5 separate regions of the Homo sapiens genome follow, and regions 2, 3, 4 and 5 are each linked to region 1. The links are contacts of gene promoters, found by promoter capture Hi-C in blood cells and fetal thymus (Javierre and others, 2016). All regions are on one chromosome and are shown on one strand. The core of a region is centred on a gene start or on the middle of the fragment in contact, and the rest is flanking DNA. Distances in the headings are between cores, read along the strand shown. Region 1 holds the start of CENPM (centromere protein M). Region 2 overlaps LOC101927344 (a long non-coding RNA gene). Region 3 overlaps LOC124905126 (a long non-coding RNA gene). Region 4 overlaps XRCC6 (X-ray repair cross complementing 6). Region 5 holds the start of SNU13 (small nuclear ribonucleoprotein 13).

Region 1 (3,025 bases), core at 324-2,823:
TAGCTGGGACTACAGGTACATGCCACCACGCCTGGCTAATTTTTGTATTTTAGTAGAGACGGGGTTTCACCATGTTGCCCAGGCTGGTCTCGGGCAATCTGCCCACCTTGGCCTCCCAAAGTGCTGGGATTACAGGTGTGAGCCATTGTGCCCGGCCGTTGTGTATTTTAAACATTGTGCACTGACCACTGGCTCCTCTCTCCTCACCTTACAGATTGACCTCAGCCAGCCTCTCCCATCCTCACCACTTCCCATCACAAGTTAGGTCACCGTCTCAGCACAGTCCTGAGCCAGGCCTGCCTGAGCCCTGACTGCCCCTTCCTCTGGCTCTCACCTGTATTTGCTGTGAAGATTAACCACAAACACGATCAGGTCAATTCGGGGCCGATTCACACTGGAGGGCAAAGGGAGGGACTTTGCCAAGTGGCTGAAAAACAGGAAATTGCAGGACTCAAGATATCCGTACCCCCCTCATAGCGACCGTTTAAATGCTGCCCTTCATGTGGAAAGAGGCCGTCAAGGGCTCCCCACCTCATCCTAGCCACCCGAGGCTCTTGTGGCCACGACTCCTTGGGCCAGCACAGAGGCAGGACAGGTCCGGTCCTATTCAGATTACTCCTGTCTGATTCCCTCTGCCAGAAACGGGCTCTGTTTAGTCACCACCTCGGCAAGGGGAGGTTGGGATATAAGACGGCATGGGACTAGCCAGCTACGCTGCATGCTGGGAGAAGGACCAGCCTCAGAGGAGGGGGCGCTGGGCTTCGGAGTTTAGCAGCTAGGACCGAATCCCTCTGGAGTGAGAGACACGTGGGCCCAGGCCACAGCCGCGGCTACTTACACCTTCAGCTCGGAGGCGCAGTCCTCTTTGAGCATCGAGTCCGCCAGCTGCTGCAGAAGAGCATCCTCCGTGCCCACCAGCTGCGCAGGGAGAGAGAGCGGACAGTCGAGCCCTAGGCACAGCACCCCCTGGGGAGGGCCTGGCCCTTCGACCCACTCCCGGGGGGATCGGGACACCGCCAGCAGGCGGCTCGGAGGACATTTCCCGAGAAGTGGACCCCGCGAAGCGGCACGGGCTGGGGGCCTGAGGTTTGGACCCGCTGCAGGCCTGTGGGCACCGCACTCTCTACTACCCGACCCTCGCTCCCACCGCCGGCCTCTCCAGGAGGCCAGACCCCCAGACGCGGGAAAACCAATTCCAGGCGCGGGAACTCGCCAATCAGAAGCTGGGAAAGGGTCCGCCGAGCACCTATTGGTGGGTGCGTCCCTCAACCTCAGAGAGCGGCTACTCCAATTGGTTCAGAGCATGGCTCTCCGCCTATTCCCCGCCCCCGCCACGGTAGCGCGCGCTGGCTTGGCGCCTCAGAGAGCTCAGTTGACCTAGTGGCTGAAGCACCGCCCAGGAGGAAAAACCGGCGGGGGAAGCAGGGCCGCCTGCACCTACCAAGATGGTGGCCGTGTTCAGGCCGGGCAGCTTGTCCAGGGGCCTCAACACCGACATCACAGCCGCAGGACCAACCGTTGCTCCTGCGGTGCGCGCCGATCTTTCAAACCGCCCTGAGTCCAGCCCCTAGAGCGCGGCCTGGGGGCACGTGCCTCCTTATAGGCGGGGCTTCGCGGGACGGGACGGGGCCTCTTAAAGGAACCGAACCTTTATCTCCTTTTCTGAGGGGCGTTCCAGCGCTACCCGTGGAACACGTGGTGGACAGGCCTTTGGTTCCACGCTCCACAGTAAGCAGGTTTTTAGTGATTCCTTTGTTCACTTTCATTCATTCATGCTCATACACAGTACTTTTTTTTTTTTTTTTTGAGACAGAGTCTCGCTTTGTGGCCCAGGCTGGAGTGCAATGCGCGCAATCTCGGCTCACTGCAACTTCTGCCTCCCGAGTTTAAGCGATTCTCCTGCCTCAGCCTCCCAAGGAGCTGGGACTACGGGCGCGCGTCACCACGCCCGACTTATTTTTTTATTTTTAGTAGAGACGGGGTTTCTCCAAGTTGCCCAGGCCGGTCTCAAACTCCTGGCCTCAAGTGATCCCGCCTCGGCCTCCCAAAGTGAGTGCTGAGATTACAGACGTGAGCCACCGTGCCTGGCCCTTTTTTTTTTTTTTTTTTTGGAGCGTCACTTTGTTGCCCAGGCTGGACTATAGTGACACGATCATAGCTCACTACAGCTTCAAACTCCTGGGCTCAAGTCATCTTCCTGGCTTAGCCTCCTGAGTAGCTGGAACTACAGGCAAGTGCCACCATGGGGATCTGGCCATGTTGCCCAGGTGGGTCGTAAACTCCTGGCCTCAAGCAGCCCTCCTGCTTCAGCCTCCTGAGTAGCTGGGACTACCGCTGCACACCAGCAGGCCCTGCCAATTGACTGCTTTTACAGTGAGTGGTAAGCATGCTGTTCTTTGTCCAATGGGAGACTTTACCTCATCTTTCAAGGTTCCTTGCTGCAAACACAGCCTGAGTACAGAGCTGTCAGGGTCTTGCTTTCTTGACATACCCAGCAAGAACATGCAGGGACGCTCAGGGCCCATAGCAAACTGGTTCTGCCAACAGTTATATAATAACTTGTTCACTGTCTCTACATCTAAAATGTAAGAAACAAGAGGTTAGAGACTTTGTCACTTTGTATGTCCAGCACTCTAAAAGTCCCTGGTACATCGTAGTTAATAAATATTTGTTGAGTGAATGGATGGATTACATTCATCCATTCATTCTCAGCAGTCATTCATTCATCATTTCCTATGCCCAGACCCAATGCCCTACCCTAGGAAGTCAGTTGAATCAGACATTATTGATTAACTTAGTTTGATGGGGGTGGGATAGACAATGATAACAGTGTGTTCATTGTTGTAATAACTGGGAGAGCAGAGACACTGTCTAGCCTAAATCCTTCTTACTGCAGACTAAACTAACTGTGTCTTGCTCAGAAAGATCAGGACGTAAATGGCCCCATAGAGCCACTGCCCTCAGCACAGATACGGCTTTCATTCCTCATGGCATGGGGTGTGGAGAGGACTTCCTGAAAGTCAAG
Region 2 (3,025 bases), core at 305-2,804, 490 kb after region 1:
GAGGCTGAGGCTGGAGAGAGACGCAGGGGAAGTGGAATGAGAAGGCCTCCCTCCTCCCCTAGGCCTCCTCTGATGAAAACTACCTTCTCTCTCCAGCATCCACAGTCAGATGCATAAAACCATTTATTTTTTCTGTTCAGAAATTACTGGTATTGCAACTAGTATTGATTTTTACTGTTTTCATTTCACATGTACAGATTTTCAGCTGCATTCAGAGTTCAGCAGCTTTCGGGCGGTTCCTGGAAGCCCGACGTCATTTATAATCCGGTTTCTGAGTGGGAACGGCTTTCTCTGGGAGACAGCTCCTTGGGAAGTTAGAGACTTCCTGCACTTATTGGACTCGAACATCCATTCTGTACAAAATGCCCCGCAACACTGAGGAGATGCTGTTTTGTTTTTGTTTGTTTGTTTGTTTTTTCGAGACGGAGTTTTACTCCTGTTGCCCAGACTGGAGTGCAATGGTGCGATCTTGGCTCACTGCAACCTCCGCCTCCCGGGTTCAAGTGATTCTCCTGCCTCAGCCTTCTGAGTAGCTGGGACTACAGGCAAGATGCTGTTTTAGGACCAGAAATCTCCCAGGGGTGTGCAGATCAACAGTAATCCCAGTCTGCCCTCCATCGTCGGAATAGAATCAGAGGGAGGGAAAATCCGCCTTTGGATCTCTGGACCATGATCTTTCCAGCAGGTCACAGGTGACCAAAGGCTTCACTTGCAGAAGCCCCCTCCCCAGGAAACTCCCCTGGGGCAAAACGAAAGTGTTTTGGGCGTTTTTGTCTGCCTGGCAGGGAGCCTGTGCCTGAGTCACTGTTTCTCTTGAGCTTCCCTTTTCTTTTCTTTCCTCCCGGTGTCTGCTGATTTTGTGTCAAACAAGGAGCATGGGGCCAGGCCATCTCTGAGCTGCCCGTGGGACGGGGACTTGGGCACTTGCCAGGAGCGGCTGGCCTAGGAGTGGGCGGGAGGCCCTTGGTCACCCACCCCAGGGCCTGGCTTCAGGTGGCCACAGCTTTCTGACCCCCTTCTGGGCACTGGGCCACCAGCTGCTGGGCATGGCCAGTGAGTGAGGGTGAGGGCAAGATGAGGAAGAGGTGGCGTAAGGTGGGAAAGGATTACTTGCCAGACGCTTGGCTGAGTCTGTTCTCTAAGCCATGCTGCGAGGCAGGTGCTATTGTGTCTGCATTTTGCGGATGAGGAAACTGTGGCTCAGAGAAGGGAAGTCACTGTTTTAAGGTGAAGTGGCCAGTGGAGGTGGGGCTAGGGTTCGAATCCTAGGATCAGGCACACTGCCTGGGGATAACCTCTAGAGGTGTCTGTGCTTCCCAGCTAGACCGGAGCTCGCTGCAGCCCCTCACTTTTTCCCCGGTCCTGCTTCAGGCCCCACTTCCTCTCTGCAGGTGCTTAGGCCGAAAATCAGGAATCTCTTGAATGAATGCATGAAGGTGGAGCCCTTTCCCTTAATGCGCAGGTGAAAAGGGCACCTCGGTGGATTCTACTAAATTTAATAGAAGGTAAGTAGGACCTGGGTCACACCGGCTTGTGGAAAGTGGAGGTCAGAATCTGAGAGGCTGCGTTTGGCACTAGGTGGGAAGGAGCTGGCTAGGGGGCAGAGGAAAGAGGGCAGGTGGCTTCGGATCCGGGGTCTCTCTTTCGTTCAACTCCGTGGGTGTTAAGGGAGCCCCATGGCGGCCTGGGCAAGCGCTGAGAGCACCTGGAAAGAGAACACCCCGCTGGACCCTCCTCTCCCCTCACTTCCAGTTGCACAGGCGAGGCCCAGCCACCTGGACGCAGGCCCAGAAGCCCAGGAGGCGGGCTAGGGGAAGGAGGGGTTTCCTGGGTCACCAGCCCCTCCCCACCGGGTCCCTGGTTCGCAGGAGGCCTCGAGGCTCGGTCCCCTGCCCGCCCCCTCTACTCTGTTTCCCCACTGCCCACAGCCTGGCCTGGTAAACAGCCCTTTCCCTGGGAATTTCTCCCCAGCATCTCCGGCAGGTGTGGATGGGGGTTTGTGGCCACCCAGCCTCCCCTTCTCCAGGCCAAGACATCCCTGGTCCTGTTTGTCCTCCCAACATGGCTTCCAGACCCTTCTCCGTGGGGGACCCCAGCCTGCATTTCCGGTTCAGATAGGGTCTGACCAGGATGGAGGTTGGAACTGTGGTCCCCTCACCATGGACACATGGCTCCTGGGAGACCCCTGGCTCCTTTCGGGTCCCCCATTTCCTTCCAGCTGGGGTCAGGGCCAGCCAGCTGCAGGATACCCTCTGCTGTGCCCCTTCTGGGCCCCAGGAGGCCCTTCCTTCCTCTTGGGATGAGGGCGCCGTCCCTACATGCTTGTCTTGTGGGTGCCTGGTGATGCTGAACCACCTGGGCCTCCCTCATGGCGAGGCCCTTCCTTCCTCGCAGGGACCCATTCGGGGTGGCCCTTAGGAAGGGAGCTGTTTTGGAAGACCCCTTGACTGCCCTTCTCCTCTGTCTCATCCTCATTCCAGGACCTTGCTCAGTGGCTGAGATTGTATACTCGTCATTTTGATTTAGAAAAAGACATGATCAGGTTCTGGGATCTATTCTCCCTAAGGATGTCTGGCCAGGGTAATAGCCCTGCACTGAGCAGAAGGCATGGAGACCACAGGGTGGGCCACAGAGCAGGAAAGATCGAGGGAAGGGGCAAAGAATGGCAGAGGTGAAGGAATCCAGAGTACTCCAGGTGCTGCACACACACCAGACCTCACAGCCCCCTGTGGAGCTCAGATTATTCCCTTATTTTTCTTTTTTTTTTTTTTTTTGAGATGGAGTTTCCCTCTTGTTGCCCAGGCTGGAGTGCAAAAGTGCAATCTCCGCTCACCACAACCTCTGCCTCCCAGGTTCAAGCTATTCTCCTGCCTCAGCCTCCCGAGTAGCTGGGATTACAGGCATGTGCCACCACGCCCAGCTAATTTCGTATTTTTAGTAGAGACAGGGTTTCTCCATGTTAGTCAGGCAGGTTATCCCCATTTTATAGGGAAAGAACTTGAGTCTGCAAGAAGCAAGTCACCCA
Region 3 (3,025 bases), core at 197-2,696, 420 kb after region 1:
TGGCCAACATCATGAAACCCCATCTCTACTAAAAAATACAAAAATTAGCTGAGCATGCTGGTGGGCACCTGTAATCCCAGCTACTCGGGAGGCTGGGGCAGGAGAATCACTTGAACCCAGGAGGCAGAGGTTGTAGTGAGCTGAGGTCATGCCACTGGCACTCCAGCCTGGGTGATAAGAGCGAAACTCTGTCTCAAAAAAAAAAAGTGTCATTTAAATGAACATGCTTGAACATGCTATACCCAGCACTGTGCTTGGCAGTATGAATGACACAGCCTCTGCTTCCATGTTAAATTCCTGGTAACCTGCTGGGCTCTTTCCCTTCCTGGGAATCCATCCCCTGAACCCCCCTCTGCACCCCCATCACAGGGGAAGTTGGAAGCACTCTGCTCAAACCATGCTGCATTGCCCACTCTGACAGTTTGGGGCATTTGGGGTGGATTTTCCTGTGGAAGTCATGGGGAGCACCGTGAAGCAGACTGACTTCCCGGCTGCTGTTCTCTGATGGAGAGGGGGTCCTTGGGATGCCCCCCCAAGTAGGTCCTTTTGATTGAGAGATGATGTATGAGATGGGATGGGGGAGAGGGCTTCCTCTGACAAAGGAAGGTGTAGAAGCTTCTCCCGGAGTTGGGCAGAGAAGGGTTAATCAACTAGAAAAATGCTGAGAGCCTGTCTCCCATAGGCAGCCAGATTGAGGCATGAAGAGGAGGAGCTGGCTTGGTGGTGTGGTGAATGAGTGCTCCCTGCATCTGTCTTCACATGGCCTTCTTATAGGGACATCAGTCATTAGATTTAGGCCCCATCCTAATCCGGTATGACCTCATCTTAAGAAGATTACATTTGCAAAGACCCTATTTCCTAATCAGGTTGCATTCACAGGTATCGGCGGTCAGGACTTCAATATATCTTTCTGGGGGACACAGTTCAACAAGGCTCAATGAGGAAAGAACATTTTGATTAGTAGGGAACATCGAGAGCAGAGGCCCCAGGGCTGCACAAGGTGGATGTCCCTGTCGCTGCCCACTGTTCTCTTGGGACTACACAGATCCTGGTGCCTAGCAGCTGTGGAAACAGAGTTGGGAGGCAGCCGACCCTCTGGACATCAGGCCTTTTCAGCTGACCCTGCCCAGCCTGGTGCCAGAGCAGGGCCCTGCCTGCCTGCCCCTCCTCCCTCTTCCTGCCTGGTCCTCATTCCCACCCACATCCCAAGATGGACAAGGACAATAAAAGCTGTTTCATAAGCAGCTGGTGATTAATTGCCAAGCTAATTAAAGAGGCAGTAATTGCACTCTGATTTCAGAGGAAGGAGTGATGTCTTGGGCAGGGGTGGGTGGTCAGCTTAGGTCTCCCTGACAAGGCAGAGCCAGAAGACAGAAAGGATTTGAAAAGCCAGGAAGAAAAAACAGGTGCACTTTTTTTTTTTTTTTGAAACGGAGTCTCGCTCTGTCTCTCAGGCTAGAGTGCAGTAGTGCAATGTTGGTCCACTGCAACCTCCACCTCCCAGGTTCAAGTGATTCTCCTGCTTCAGCCTCCCAAGTAGCTGGGACTACAGGTGCATGCCCCCATGCCCCACCAATTTTTTTTTTTTTAGACAGAGTCTCACTCTGCTGCCAGGCTGGAGTGCAGTGGCACGATCTCCGCTCACTGCAACCTCCGCCTCCTGGGTTCAAGCAATTCTCCTGCCTCAGCCTCCCTAGTAGCTGAGACTACAGGCATGCACCACCACACCCAGCTCATTTTTGTATTTTTAGTAGAGACAGGGTTTCACTATGTTGGCCAGGCTGGTCTCGAGCTCCTGACCTCAGGTGATCCTCCCTCCTCAGCCTCCCAAAGTGCTGGGACCACAGGCATGAGCCACTGTGCCCATCCGAAGCACCCTCTTTCTAGAGGTGCACCTGTTGGCTGCGCACAGTGGCTCACACCTGTAATCCCAGCGCTCTGGGAGGCCGATGTGGGTGGATCACCTGAGCTCAGGAGTTCGAGACCAGCCTGGCCAACATGGTGAAACCCTGTCTCTACTAAAAATACAAAAATTAGCTGGGTATGGTGGCACGCACCTGTAGTCCCAGCTACTTGAGAGGCTGAGGCAAGAGAATCGCTTGAACCTGGGAGGCTGCGGTTGCAGTGAGCCAAGATTGCACCATTGCACTCCAGCCCAGGCGACAGACAGAGACTCCATCTCAAAAAAAAAAAAAAAAAAAATAGTGGGTGCTTCAATCATAGCTGCACATAGCTGCAATATTTCATTTGACAGAGTCAGATGGGGGACTTAGATGCTTAAGCTTATCTCTGTACTTTTCCATGTCTTCGAAATATTTCATTAACATCCACACACACACAAAAATGGCAGGGGAGAGGTTAAGTGTTTCTAAATTCTAGTTTGGGATTTATAAATGGCTTCAAATACCAGTGTGCCTTACTTTACACAGTGGAGAGGGTCTTAAAATTCTGCGTCAATTGAATCCCGTTGGCCTACCCAGTAAATCTTAACGCCTCTGATGCTCTAGCTTCATTTCTGATTGATTTTCCCTGGCAGAGGTACCAAATTCTTTGCTTTAAGTGTCAGGCTCTCTCTGTCAAGTAGTTAATGACCTATAAAGCACTTAAAACGTACTGGAGGAGATGCGATTTGGAGGCACCCTGCAGTGTATCCTCTCTTATTGTCGGTAATCACCCCTCATTTATTTGCTCTTATTGGTTTGGAATTTGCTATCAGGTTTTCCTAAAGCCAAGCCCACCAGGAATGGTCCAATTCTATGTGGGCCCAGATGGGTGCCGGGATTGGAACCTAGGGGCAGTGGGCAGCCAGTGTGGCCTCTTTCCTCACGAGCCCTTCGGCTTGGGTGCCCTGGTCATCTCATGGCCACACATTCAGCGGCTCTGCCTCTTGCCAGCTGAGTGATCTTGAGCATTCAGTGCCCCCCTCCAAGCCTCACTTTCCTCTTCCACACTGCCCCAGAGCTGGTGCCTGCCCCTGAACAACTGGAAGATGACTCCAGCCTGGTGAAGTCAGTGCTGGGAGCCG
Region 4 (3,025 bases), core at 374-2,873, 290 kb before region 1:
TAGGCTACTTGAGCCGGAGAGGTAGAGGCTACAGTAAGCTGTGATCACACCACTGCATTCCAGCCTGGGTGATAGCAAGATCCTGTCTCAAAAAAAAAAAAAAAAAGATGAAGGCTGGGCGCGGTACCTCACGTCTGTAATCCCAGCACTTTGGGAAGCCGAGGTGGGCAGATCCCCTGAGGTCAGGAGTTTGAGACCAGCCTGGCCAACATGGCGAAACCCCATCTTTACCGAAAGTACAAAAATTAGCCGGGCGTGGTGGCGCCTGTAATCCCAGCTATTCAGGAGGCTGAGGCAGGAGAACCGCTTGAACCTGGGAGGCGGAGGTTGCAGCGAGCCGAGATTGCCCACTGTACTCCAGCCTGGGCGACAAGAGTGAAACTCCATCTCAAAAAAAAAAAAAGATGGAAAAAAACATTAAATATTAAATTTATGAACGTATGACATGGACAAACATGTTTCAATTGACGGCAGTCAGGTTTGGTGCTGTCCGAGGTTTCAGGTATCCTCCCGGGTTCTTCAAACATATTCCCCAGGGATAAGGGATCTACTGTATACAGGAAGGGGCACCCCTCCTCCCTTGCAGTCTTCTGGAAACTGCAGAGGGAGTCTGTTAGGCAGATGATAACAAAAACCAGCTGGTGGAGTTCAAGAAATGGGGCCTACGGGGCCCCAGCCCCAGCACCACAGGACATAAAAGGAAGAATTTGGAGCTGAGAAACAAGTGACTGCAACACTTGAAGTCAAATCAAAGAAAATTTATCTCCTTTCTTCAGGCTTCCAGCTGGTCTTTTTACCCTTTGCTGATGATAAAAGGAAGATGCCCTTTACTGAAAAAATCATGGCAACTCCAGAGCAGGTGGGCAAGATGAAGGCTATCGTTGAGAAGCTTCGCTTCACATACAGGTGAGTCAATCTCAGGCTTTCTGGAACTGCCTCCTGAGTTGAAAATCTTATTAGAAACAGCTTGGGCATAGGCCAAGAGAATGGCACTACTCTTTTCAGCAAACTGACAGATTACTACTTGTTATTAATAGTTTTTTGAAAGCCATATAGAGAATGGAACCTTTTATTATGTTGGAGACTCTGGGATTTTGTGGTTTCTCTGTTGTGCTGTACTTAGCCAGATTAGTTGGTTGAACAAATTTGAAAAAATAGCAGGATTCTTATTCGCCCTTCTCCTTGATTGTGTTTGTTATTCCACAATGAGCAAAAGTAAATAAATCTAGTGTAAATTGTTAAAGGCTTAAAAGAATGATTAAGTAATTCAAGTCATTCCCTCTCACATATATAATAGACCAACTCTCAGAGCCTGCATAATGGGACACTAAACGTAATTTTTTTCACATGTCATTTTTAAAAATTTATTATTATTATTATTATTATTATTATTATTATTATTATTATTATTTTGAGACAGGGTCTCTTGTCACCCAGGTTTGATTGCAGTGGTGTTACTGTAGTTCACTGCAGCCTTGACCTCCCTGGGCTCAGGTGATTCTCCCACCTCAGACTCCTGAGTAGCTGGGACCATACCCTTGCACCACCACACCTGGCTAATTTTTGTATTTTTTGTAGGGACGGAGTTTCACCATGTTGCCCAGGCTGGTCTGGAACTCCTGAGCTCAAGCCATCCGCCTGCCTCAGCTTCTCAAAGTGCTGGATTACAGGCATGAGCCAGGGTGCCCAGGCTGGTTTGCTTTCTAAGTTGACTTGAGACAAAGTCTTGCTCTGCCATCCAGGCTGGAGTACCGTGGCACGATCATGGCTCACTGCAGCCTCGATCTCCTGGACTCAAGCAGTCTTCCTGCCTATGCCTCCTGAGTAGCTGGGACCACAGGCGTGCACCAACATGCCTGGCTGATTTTTAAATTTTTTGTAGAGACAGGGTCTCACCATGTTGTCCAAGCTGGTCTTGAACTGCTAGACTCAAGCATTCCGCCTACCTTGGCCTACCAAAGTGCTGGGATTACAGGCATGGGCTACTGCACCTGACCTCAACTGTTTTACTTGGGGTGTTTTTCTCAGCTCACCCCGGACCTGTAGTATCTCAGGTGGTTTTATTCTAATTTTTTCAATGTTTAAATTGTCATGTTTCAGTTGAGTTACATTATTGTTTTAACAGAAGTGACAGCTTTGAGAACCCCGTGCTGCAGCAGCACTTCAGGAACCTGGAGGCCTTGGCCTTGGATTTGATGGAGCCGGAACAAGCAGTGGACCTGACATGTAAGGAGGTTGAATAGAGTAGTTCTTTTCATGGGAGGCTTTCTTACTGGTTCCACTCTGCACCAGTAATTTGGGTGCATTTCCCAGTCCTCTCTAAACACTTAACCTCATTCCCCAGACCCCCTCTGTTTGGAAGCTTTTCCAGACCAGCTTAAACAGCCAGGGAACAGATTTGGCTGGTTCCATAGTGAGAGGAGGAGAGTGTCAGGCTTCTGAGACCTGCCTCTGCACTAGGCCGCCCTGTGACTACATGCTGGTGAAATTTAAAAAATAATATAAGAGGCTGGGCACGGTGGCTCATGCCTGTAATCCCAGCACTTTGGGAGGCCGAGGCGGGTGGATCACGAGGTCAAGAGATTGAGACCATCCTGGCCAACATGTCTCTACTCTGTCTCTACTAAACTCTGTCTCTACTAAAAATACAAAAAATTAGCTGGGTGTGGTGGCGTGTGCCTGTAGTCCCAGCTACTCGGGAGGCTGAGGCAGGAAGATCGGTTGAACTCAGGAGGCAGAGGCTGCAATGAGCCGAGATTGCACCACTGCACTCCAGCCTGGTGACAGAGCGAGACGCTGTCTCAAAAAACAAAACAAAAACAAAAAATCAATAAATAATTTAAGAGGAAATAAGTGGTGGATTTGGGTTTAGAATCCAGCGACTCGCAGCCGGGCGTAGTGGCTTACGTCTGCCTCCTAGGTTCAAGCTATTCTCGTGTCTCAGACTCCCGAGCAGTTGGTCCCCGCCCGGCTAATTTTTGTATTTTTAGTAGAGACGGGATTTCGCCATGATGGCCCGGCTGGT
Region 5 (3,025 bases), core at 146-2,645, 260 kb before region 1:
TTTCACTATTAGTCAACAAAAAAGTTAAACTCAATTTTAAAACCAAACTAGCTTATAAACACTAATTGAAACTTGCTTAGGGTGTATTTATTTGCCTTTCAATTTCTTCAGGGGTTAAATAAATTAACGAATGATATCATACCACCAGCCAACCTAAATCCCTACCTAGCATGATCAGTTTGGTTTCGCTGTACACCAGACAGCCAAAACTTGCAAGGTTTTGATTGAACAACAAATACTGCGTGCTTACTCTGTACCAAGCATCAGGACTAGATGTTTACCATGCTTTATTTCATTTGATCCTCACAACACCCTCATGCACTGTCATCCCCATTTTACAGTTGAGGAAAACTGCAAAGTTCAACCTGAGACCATCCGATTCCAAAACGTTTCAGGGAGCTGCGTTAAAGCGAGCACTGAGTTTGGAAGCTTCAAGTTCTAGGCTCAGCCACGTACTAAGCTTCAAAATGCATGGGAGGAGGTTTGTGGGGAGTGCTACCGCCGGGATCCAAGCTCCACTGGAAGGATTAACTATAGAAGTTACAGTGCTTTACAAATTCTTCCCTCCTCACCAAGTGCCAACCAAAACTACTACGCCAGGACACACGTTTTAGAACTTTCCCTAGATGTTTAAAAGTCAGAGACGACCAAGAGTTTAGAGACGCCGCACGTGGTGCTACCAGACTTCTGGTTTTTGAAGCCACCGCCTTGCAGGAGAAGCCTTTCCTGCACTCCAGGCCGTGAGTCGCGCTCACTTCATGTTCCCCACAGCCCCCAAATGCCAAAGGCTCCTCTAGGTCCCTGGCGCGTGTGACTCGCGGCGGGCACTAAGCGCAGACCCATGGGAGATCTCCTCCTGAACCCCAGCAACGGGGGTGGGGTGAGGTAGGGTGGGTAGGAGAGGTTGATCCGAATCCCAGGGTCCCACGCCATCGTAGATTTCGTATGAAAAGAAACAAGGAAAAAAAAAAGTTGGAGCCAAGTTTTCTTCACCCAACTTTTTGCCCTCTCCCACGTGGGTTGGTCTCTTTCTCCCAGGCTGGGCCATGCCCCCTCCGCTCGCTGCAGGCCTTTTGCCAAGCAAACAGACCGTGCGGCAAAGCAACACAGCTGCGGGGATCCTAAGGTTTCCTGAGTTCTAACCTCGGGCCAGGCTGCTGGGACCCCGCCGCTGCTGGGGTTCTAACTAAGGGCCCGGCGGTTAAGACCCAACGCCGGCGGATGAGACGGCGCAGGCTCTAAGCCTCCATCTAACAGGCTAGGGAGTGAACGCAACCCTGAGTCTCCCGCTTCCCGGTCCCTCGGCCGGCGCACGCACTCACCATGGCTGCGGTTCCGCGGGCTCAGCACTCCTAGGGGAGCGCAGCTGACGTTTCAGAAGCACTCGCGTGCACCGGAAAAACTCACAGAAGCAGCAGCGGAAATGGCCCCGCGCGGCAGGAAGCGAAGGTGACGCTACGCGAGCGAGTGGGCCCCGCCCTCTACGGGGGCACTGGCGCGGAAACTGGCCCTGTGTCGAAGAAGGAACGTACTTTGGCGTTCTTATGAGCTGCCTAGTACAAATTATTGGCAGAAACAATGAATTAAACATTCAAAAAGTAACCCACCGGCCGGCCGCAGCGGCTTATGGCTGTAATCCCGGCACTTTGGGAGGCCGAGGCGGGCGCATCACCTGAGGACAGGAGTTCGAGACCAGCCTGGCCAACATGGCGAAACCTCGTCCCTACTAAAAAATACAAAAATTAGCCAGGCGTGGTGGCGGGCGCCTGTAACCCCAGCTACTTAGGAGGCTGAAGCAGGAGAATCGCTTGAACCCCGGAGGTGGAGGCTACAGTAAGTTGAGATCATGCCACTGCACTCTAGCACTCCAGCTGAGGCGACAGAGCGAGACTCTCAAAAAAAAAAAAAAAAAGGCCGGCCGGGTGCGGTGGCTCCCGCCTGTAATCGCAGCACTTTGGGAGGCTGAGGCAGGCGGATCACTAGGTCAGGAGATCGAGACCATCCTGGCTAACACAGTGAACCGTCTCTACTAAAAATACAAAAAATTAGCCGGGCATGGTGGCGGGCGCCTGTAGTCCCAGCTACTCGGGAGGCCGAGGCAGGAGAATGCCGTGAACCCCGGAGGCGGAGCTTGCAGTGAGCCGAGATCGCACCACTGCACACTGCACTCCAGCCTGGGCAACAGAGTGAGACTCCGTCTCAAAAAAAAGAAGAAAAAAAAGAGGGCCGGGTGCGGTGGCTCACGCCTGTAATCCCAGCACTTTGGGAAGCTGAGGCGGGCGGATCACCTGAGGTTGGGAGTTCGATACCAGCCTGACCAATATGGAGAAACCCCCGTCTCTACTAAAAATACAAAATTAGCCGGGCGTGGTGGCGCATGCCTGTAATCCCAGCTACTCGGGAGGTTGAGGCAGGAGAATCGCTTGAACTTGGGAGGTGGAAGTTGCAGTGAGCCGAGATCGCGCCATTGCACTCCAGCCTGGGCAACAAGAGTGGAAACTCGGTCTCAAAAAAAAAAAAAAAAATTCCAGCCACTAAACAGTTAAGGCCTGGCTCATTATAATTGGCTGACGTCCCTGCCTGCTCAGATATTTAATATTTTGAATAGAACTTTTGGGTAAAAGAGTCTTCAGGGTAACATTTATTTTCCCACCAACACTGATCCTAAGATGGGAAAAGTAATTCCCCCACAGGAAATCAGGATACTGCAAGCAACGAGAAAGGCATGTTGAGTGGTTAAACAAGAATACATGTATTCAATACAGTGTTCATTAAATGTTTGATAATAGAAGGACAGGCAGATCCAAGTATTTCATAGGAAGAAAGAAATCAAGCAGACCGCAGGTTATATCACCCCATCACACATTCAGGGAACTTAATCTTTTCATTCCAGAGGATGGGTTTGTTTAAAACAAGTTCTTCCTCCTAATTACTTTTGAACAATTCCCCAATACTGTCCTTACCTGCACCAAGAGCATGCTAACCAGGCCTGGCACCAGGGTCAGAGTTGAGGCTGGGGCATCAG

What was found. Contacts are between HindIII fragments. The CHiCAGO score rates a contact against its expected background, and 5 or more counts as called.
Region 2: a contact is called between a fragment that was not itself captured here and the fragment with the promoter of CENPM in region 1, in 10 of 17 cell types (activated CD4 T cells, total CD4 T cells, naive CD8 T cells and 7 more). The highest score is 10.4, in activated CD4 T cells.
Region 3: a contact is called between a fragment that was not itself captured here and the fragment with the promoter of CENPM in region 1, in 1 of 17 cell types (endothelial precursors). The highest score is 5.1, in endothelial precursors.
Region 4: a contact is called between a fragment that was not itself captured here and the fragment with the promoter of CENPM in region 1, in 5 of 17 cell types (total CD4 T cells, naive CD8 T cells, megakaryocytes and 2 more). The highest score is 5.8, in total CD4 T cells.
Region 5: the fragment with the promoter of SNU13 here is called in contact with the fragment with the promoter of CENPM in region 1 in 11 of 17 cell types (endothelial precursors, total CD8 T cells, naive B cells and 8 more); the score reaches 11.0 in endothelial precursors.

The regions. Positions count from the first base shown.
Region 1 is chr22:41,945,579-41,948,603 of GRCh38, forward strand. It overlaps CENPM (centromere protein M), which reads right to left and starts at 1,574. Exons shown (of 6, transcript NM_024053.5): 1 at 1,442-1,574; 2 at 839-918; 3 at 335-427. The coding sequence starts at 1,498. It also overlaps a transcript of SMIM45 not described here. RefSeq lists an enhancer at 1,378-1,587. The HindIII fragment of the contact is 15,549 bases long and covers 1-3,025 here.
Region 2 is chr22:42,439,100-42,442,124 of GRCh38, forward strand. LOC101927344 (a long non-coding RNA gene) reads left to right here. Exons shown (of 6, transcript NR_188414.1): 2 at 1,392-1,505. Among named protein-coding and RNA genes, the nearest start is that of NFAM1, 8.2 kb to the left of the region's middle. RefSeq lists enhancers at 1,495-2,494, 1,538-1,617. The HindIII fragment of the contact is 3,228 bases long and covers 1-3,025 here.
Region 3 is chr22:42,370,583-42,373,607 of GRCh38, forward strand. LOC124905126 (a long non-coding RNA gene) reads left to right here. Exons shown (of 2, transcript XR_007068114.1): 2 at 880-1,244. Among named protein-coding and RNA genes, the nearest start is that of LINC01315, 2.9 kb to the left of the region's middle. The HindIII fragment of the contact is 1,667 bases long and covers 614-2,280 here.
Region 4 is chr22:41,656,127-41,659,151 of GRCh38, forward strand. It overlaps XRCC6 (X-ray repair cross complementing 6), which reads left to right. Exons shown (of 13, transcript NM_001469.5): 10 at 777-906; 11 at 2,126-2,226. Among named protein-coding and RNA genes, the nearest start is that of SNU13, 31 kb to the right of the region's middle. The HindIII fragment of the contact is 1,473 bases long and covers 888-2,360 here.
Region 5 is chr22:41,687,472-41,690,496 of GRCh38, forward strand. It overlaps SNU13 (small nuclear ribonucleoprotein 13), which reads right to left and starts at 1,396. Exons shown (of 3, transcript NM_001003796.2): 1 at 1,323-1,396. The coding sequence starts at 1,325. It also overlaps the pseudogene C22orf46P. RefSeq lists enhancers at 596-765, 1,316-1,495 and a silencer at 877-1,076. The HindIII fragment of the contact is 2,689 bases long and covers 459-3,025 here.